2 separate regions of the Homo sapiens genome follow, and region 1 is linked to region 2. Evidence: promoter capture Hi-C in 16 types of primary human blood cells and fetal thymus (Javierre and others, 2016). All regions are on one chromosome and are shown on one strand. The core of a region is centred on a gene start or on the middle of the fragment in contact, and the rest is flanking DNA. Distances in the headings are between cores, read along the strand shown. Region 1 holds the start of SLC44A2 (solute carrier family 44 member 2 (CTL2 blood group)). Region 2 holds the start of CDC37 (cell division cycle 37, HSP90 cochaperone).

The links. The method cuts DNA at HindIII sites, captures the fragments that hold promoters and counts their contacts. A CHiCAGO score of 5 or more calls a contact.
Region 1: a contact is called between the fragment with the promoter of SLC44A2 here and the fragment with the promoter of CDC37 in region 2, in 1 of 17 cell types (activated CD4 T cells). The highest score is 5.4, in activated CD4 T cells.

The regions. Positions count from the first base shown.
Region 1 is chr19:10,623,964-10,627,332 of GRCh38, reverse strand. SLC44A2 (solute carrier family 44 member 2 (CTL2 blood group)) reads right to left here and starts at 1,780. Exons shown (of 22, transcript NM_020428.4): 1 at 1,663-1,780; 2 at 1,032-1,080. The coding sequence starts at 1,699. RefSeq lists an enhancer at 2,741-3,322. The HindIII fragment of the contact is 23,966 bases long and covers 1-3,369 here.
Region 2 is chr19:10,402,097-10,405,248 of GRCh38, reverse strand. CDC37 (cell division cycle 37, HSP90 cochaperone) reads left to right here and starts at 1,707. Exons shown (of 8, transcript NM_007065.4): 1 at 1,707-1,871. The coding sequence starts at 1,770. MIR1181 (microRNA 1181) reads left to right here and starts at 1,711; the gene lies at 1,711-1,791. RefSeq lists silencers at 172-221, 1,932-1,991 and an enhancer at 1,182-1,531. The HindIII fragment of the contact is 3,760 bases long and covers 195-3,152 here.

The DNA of each region.
Region 1 (3,369 bases), core at 531-3,030, 220 kb before region 2:
TTTTTTTTTTTTGAGAGGGAATCTCACTCTGTCGCCCAGGCTGGAGTGCAGTGGAACGATCTCAGCTTACTGCAACCTCTACCTCCCAGGTTCAAGCGATTCTCCTGCCTCAGTCTCCCAAGTAGCTGGGATTATAGGTGCCCGCCACCATGCCCAGCTAATTCTTGTATTTTTAGTAGAGACAGGGTTTCACCATGTTAGCCAGGCTGGTCTCGAACTCCTAACCTCAAGTGATCCACCTGCCTTGGCCTCCCAAAGTGCTGGGATTATAGGTGTGAGCCACCGTGCCTGGCTGTATTTTATTTTTTTGTTATTTTTTTTTGAGACAGAGTCTCGCTCTTGTCCTCCAGGCTGGAGTGCAGTGGCGCAATCTCAGCTTACTGCAACCTCCACCTCCCAGATTCAAGCAATTCTCCTGCCTCAGCCTTCTGAGTAGCCTCTGAGTAGTCACAGCTACTGGAGAGGCTGAGACAGAAGACGTGCTTGAACCAGGAGGGGAAGGTTGCAGTGAGCTGAGATTGCACCACTCCAGCCTGGGTGACAGAGTGAGACTCCATCTCAAAAATAAATAAATAAATAAATAAATATAAACATGGTAAAAATTAAGTCCAGGCCAGGTGTGGTAACTCACACCTGTAATCCCAGCACTTTGGGAGGCCAAGGCAGGTGGATCGCTTTGAGCTCACGAGGTCGAGACCAGCATGGGCAACACAGCGAAACATCTCTGCTAAAAGTACAAAAAAAAAAAAAAATTAGCCAGGTGTGGTGGTGCAAGCCTGTAATCCCAGCTACTTGGGAGACTGAGGTGGGAGAATTGCTCGAACCCGGGAGGCGAAGGTTGCAGTGAGCCGAGATTGAGATCGCGCCACGGCACTCCAGCCTGGTGACAGAGCAAGACTCCATCTCAAAAAAAAAAAAAAGTTTCAAATATTTGTCACCAGTTTGTTGGAGAACAGATGGGAGGGGGTGTGAAGAGACAGGGATTGGGGTAGTATTAGCGGGGAGAACCCCCCAAAACCCAGAGCTCTTACCTATTGTAAATGGGTCCTTTGAAAGTGGGATCATACTTCTGTGGCGTTCCTGAAAGTCAAGAAGATTAAGATGGATGGGATTGGAGACCTGAACCAAGACAGGGCTGGGAGAGCCCCCTCCCAAAAGCCCCTAGGGGTGTCTTTGCCTTGGCAAGAATAAAATTCAGAGACCTGTGGAATTTTCTGCCTCACCCACCTCCAGGTGACCACACCCAAGCCCCCAGTTCTGGCAGGCCAGGACAGGGGAGGAAGGAGGGATCACTAACTGTGAACAAACTTATTAACTGGCGGCCACCCACTGGGAAGAGGGCTGAAATGGTGACCACCACGGAACCAGGTGGAGATGGGGAAGATCTGAGGTGGGATAGGGGGAAGGAGGCGCCGGCAGCAGTGCCAGGCAGAGGGGTACAGGGGCAGGTCCTTCGGGTAGGGGAGAGTAAGGAGGGTCGTCTGCGAGGCTGCGGGGGATAAGTGGGGTGAAGGGGCCTGGCTGATGGTGGGGAGGCTCCAGGCGCAGATTTGCAATTGCGCTCCCCCTCCAGCCCCCTTCCCTGCGCCCCATGTTCTCTCAAGGCCCCCTCCGAGGGACCGAGGGGTCGGCCCGGGGCTACGGGCGGGGGTCGCTGCCTACCGTGTTTCCCGTAGTAGTGGGGCCGCTCGTCCCCCATCCCTGCAGGCGACCAGCCCCGGCGGCCGCCCGCGCTCTCTCCCGCGCCCCCTCGACCCTCCCGAGTCTGGAGGGAGGCACTGACCGCGCGACTGGCGGCGGCTCCTCCCAGCACAGCGCCAGGCGGGGCGGCCCAAACCGGTCAGACCGGCCCGAGCTGGGCAGCTGCCCAGACTAAGGGACCCGGGAGGGCGCGGGCGGGGCTGCAGCTGCTCCCGCCACTCACCGGCCGGCCGCATTTAGCCTTCCCCGCCCCCACCCGGGAACCCTGCGGCTTCACCCTGGGAACACCCTGCCACCGGGCGATGCCGCCTAGAACCCCTGGCCACCCTGAAAGGGCGTTTCCGTGGCTTCGTTTTGCAGGTGTGGAAACTGAGGCACTGGGAGGGAAAACGGCCTACTGCCCAAACCCAGACAACCAACTGTGGAATGTTGGTGCTGAAAACTTCTCCAAGCTGTGCAGGAAATTAGTTTTCTTTCTGTCTGCTGCTTTTTTTTTTTGAGACAGGATCTCCCTCTGTTGCCCAGGCTGGAGTGCAGTGGTGCAATCACAGCTCATCGCAGTCTCGACCTCCCTGCCTCAAGCCATCCTCCTGACTAAGCCTCCTGAGTAGCTGGGACTACAGGTGCTCTACTGCACTCGGCTAATTTTTAATTTTTTTTGTAGAGATGGGATGTTGCTATGTTGCCCAGGCTCATCTTTAACTCCTGGACTCGTGGGCTCCTCCCACCGTGGCCCCCCAAAGTGCTGGGATTACCTGCGTGCACTACTGGGCCTGGTCTTAGAACAAGTATTTATTCAGCCCTTAGTGGGTGCAGGCCTTGGGCGGGGCACCGCATACAGTGAGGAACCAGAGAGACCCAATCTCCACCCTTGTGGAGCCCACATCCTCCTGGGTCGCCCTGAATTCAAATGCTCCTTCTGCACCCTCTGAACTAGAGGATACTTAACAAAGGGCTTATCTTCCTTAAGCCTCAGTTTCCTCAACTGCAAAATGAGGCTAAAGTATGAAACCAAAACTGACCTCAAAGAGCAGGCATAGGCCAGGTGCAGTGGCTCATGCCTGTAATCCCAGCACTCTGGGAGGCTGAGGCAGGTCGATCAGGATTTCTAAGCCAGCCTGGCCAACATGGTGAAACCCCTTCTCTACTAAAAATACAAACATTAGCCAGTGTGGTGGCACATGCCTGTAATCCCAGCTACTTGGGAAGCTGAGGCAGGAGAATCGCTTAAACCCAGGAGGTGGAGGTTGCAGTGAGCCAAGATTGCCTCACTGCACTCCAACCTGGGGGACAGAGTGAGACTCTGTCTCCAAAAAGAAAAAGAAAAAAGAAAATAGGCTGGGTGTGGTGGCTAACACCTATAATCCCAGCACTTTGGGAGGCCGAGGTGGGCGGATCATGAGGTCAAGAGATCGAGACCATCCTGGCCAACTTGGTGAAACCCCGTCTGTACTAAAAATACAAAAATTAGCTGGATGTTGTGGTGTGCACCTGTAGTCCCAGCTACTTGGGAGGCTGAGGCAGGAGAATCACTTCAACCCGAGAGGCGGAGGTTGCAATGAGCCGAGATCGTGCCACTGCACTCCAGCCTGGGTGACAGAGCGAGTGTCTCAAAAAATCAATCAATCAATAAATCAAAAATTAGCCGGGTGTGGTGGTTCATGCCTG
Region 2 (3,152 bases), core at 458-2,957:
CTATCCGGGAATCCCCGACATCTGGGATTCTCTCCAAACACCCCCAGGCTGATGACGGGGCCGAATCCCTAAAGGGCATACGGTGGGGGTGGGGGTACGACTTTCCTGGGGAGCCGGGGAACCCCCTACCTTCCTGGCCCCCTCCCACTGTGGCACCGTGTCCCCCTCCCCACCGCAGCTCGCAGCCCCAAGCTTACCTTGCGGGGGGCCTGGGGAGGGGATGCCCCGCCCTCCCTGGCCTGGGGGGCGGGAGGGGACGGGGGTGTCCAGACCCTTTGTTTGCTGGTGTGTGTGTGTATGTGTGTGTGCGATTGTGAGAGCCGCCGGGGTGTGGGTCCGTGCGCGCGCGTGCCCGGGCCGTGACGGCCACTGATGTGCTGGACTGCCAGGGTGGAGGGGAAGAGGGAGGGGTAGGAGATGGGGACTCCCCCGCCCCTGCCCGCCCACTCGCGGGTTTGAATGAAGCGCGAGGGGGAAGGGCGGCAGCGGGAGGACGTTTTTGTCCGATGGCCCTTCCCGCTCCATGCACCGGGGAATCCTCCCCCTTCTGGAGAACTTCGCTCGCTCTCTCCAGGCACTGCCTCCAACGTCGGCTCCAGGGGAGACTAGGAAGAGGCGCCCCTCACCGGAGTGGCTGGAGCTCCTCCTATCCAGCCTGACCCCCGAGGGAGCACCCTTTAATCTGAGATAATCCTGGCCCAAGGCTGCAACACGGCCTATTATCCTGGTATCAAAGCGTGGATTGGGATGCATGGAAGTGTGAGGTGGTCGAGGCCCTGCATGCTTAGAGTAATGGAGTCCTTAGAGCCCCGGCGGAGGAAGCGTACCCCAAGACGAACGGGGAGGGGCTATGCGTGGCCCCAGACTGTGACGACAAGGAAAGCCCCCTTCCACCCCTCCACGATTCCCCCCACCAAGCGCGGGGCCAGGAATACGCGCCGTGGGCTAGACTCTAGCGACACCCAGCGGCCAGCGGGGTGGGGAGCCGAGACCCGTTTTGAGGGGGTCCGGGTGATTCCAAAGTGTGTGTGTGTGTGTGTGTGCGTGTGTGTGTGTGTGTGTGTGTGTGTGCGCGCGCGCGCTCGCGCGAGTCCTCGCTGCGAATGGCAGGAGGTGGAAGACAAGGAGAAGGCTGTTGCCGAGGCGGGGAAACCCCAGCTCCCAAGGCAGGGCCACAGTCTCCCCTCCACGTTTAACCCTGCAAGGGGAGGGCCATACCACCCCCGATTTAGACACCCCCAGGGCAGGTCCAGTCCTCCTCGGGCTGAGAAAGTCCGAGGAGTCATCAGGCGCCCCTCTCCAGCGCAGGCTTAGGTCCCCGTTTACGAAGGGCAGGGGGAGGGCCTTCCCGCCGTGTCCCTACCCCTTGCAGACGTCACTGCGGCGTGGCTGAGGGGACAGTCCTCTCAGTCTCATCAACCGTCCCCTCCCTGCCACCCCAAACGCCCACCGTGGAGCGGCGGGAGATGAGGGGGGCTCGGAGTTGAAGCGCGCACTCATATGCCCCCAGGAGACCTAGCGGAGCCCCAGCGCCCGATGACGCGGAGTCTCTGCGGGAACTCCAGGGGGCCGGAACACTTACGCAGGGCCCTTTAAGGCTGGCTGGGTAGCTAGTGCCGCTGCCGCGGTTACTAGGGATGTGACGTCACACAGGGCGGGGTTTCCCGCGCTCGGCGGAAGCGGAAGGGGCGGGGCTCCGCGCTCCTAGTCTCCACTGCTGCCGCCGTCGCCGCCACCCGAGCCGGAGCGGGCTGGGCCGCCAAGGCAAGATGGTGGACTACAGCGTGTGGGACCACATTGAGGTGTCTGATGATGAAGACGAGACGCACCCCAACATCGACACGGCCAGTCTCTTCCGCTGGCGGCATCAGGTAAGGCGCGCGCGCCCATCCCTTTCCCCACTCCCGGACCCCGCTTCGGAGTTGTGATCCCCGATACTGCCCAGGGACCCCGCTGTTCACACCTAGGATTCTCACCCCCCCAGTCTGGATTTTCAGGAGCTTCGATTCAACTCCGGGACCCCAGTACCATTGGGACCCTGAGTCCCTGCCCTGGATCTCCGCTCCCCCACTCCCTGCTCCGATTTTTGCGTGGGATTCCCTATTCACCCCCTAGAACTTCTTCATAGTCTGGAGTCCCCTAGACGAGTCTTGGGGGTTCTCCCTAATTCTGTTCGGCAGTTAACATTTATACCCAGAACTCTGCCTCAAAGTTTGGACCCCAAATTCTTCTAGATGATCCCTCATCCTATTCGGGTATTCACTTCCTATCTGGGATCTCCCATCGCCCCCCCACCTCCGTAGTCTGGACCCCCAATACTTTGGTCTGTCCCGGGATCTACTTTCCGGGATCTTGATCCGGGGTTCCCATTCAGATCCGGAGTCGCCACTCCTTTTCTAAACGGAACAAGGAACTCTGTGCTACTCTGATATTCCTGTCCCTGCCCACACCCAGGACCCCCTTCCTAGAGTGTAGAACCGTCCCCCTTCAGGATCCTTAGTCTCACCGAGTACTTGGGTTTTGGAATCTGGTTCCCCTCTGGATCTAACTACCAGCTCCAACCCGATAGAGCCTCACATTCCAGCCTCTCCTTTGGCCTCCGGTAGACCCATTTCCCATTATACCAGGAAATCCTGCCCACGTGGCTTCCGGCCTAGCCAGAGCCCCTGCTCCTACTTGGTATTGCAGACCCTGTCACCACCCACTTCCCAGACTGGCTTCCTGTATGAGCCTCAGCCAGCATTGGAAACTCTCCCCTAACTCAAGCCCAGAACCCCAAACCCACCCCACCTTTTGTCCCCAGCCTGTTAGCTACTCTGTGACCCAAATTGTCCCTGCTCTTATCCAGGGACTCTCCTGGTCTGATTCTAAATTCACCACCCCTTCTTCTATCTGACCACAACAGAGGTCCCGAATCCAGACCCCAGAATCCCAAGCCTGGGTGATCCATGTCCCACCACCCTCTCAGTGCTCACGAGCCAATGGGATGACTAAGACTTAAAGGTTTAACCTCCTGCTACCCCAAATGAGTGTGCCTGCATTACATACCAGTGTCTGTTGTATTCCTTTTTTTTTTTTTTTTTTTTTTTTTGAGACGAAGTTTCCTTCTTGTCGCCCAGGCTGGAGTGCAGTGGCACAATCTTGGCTCACTG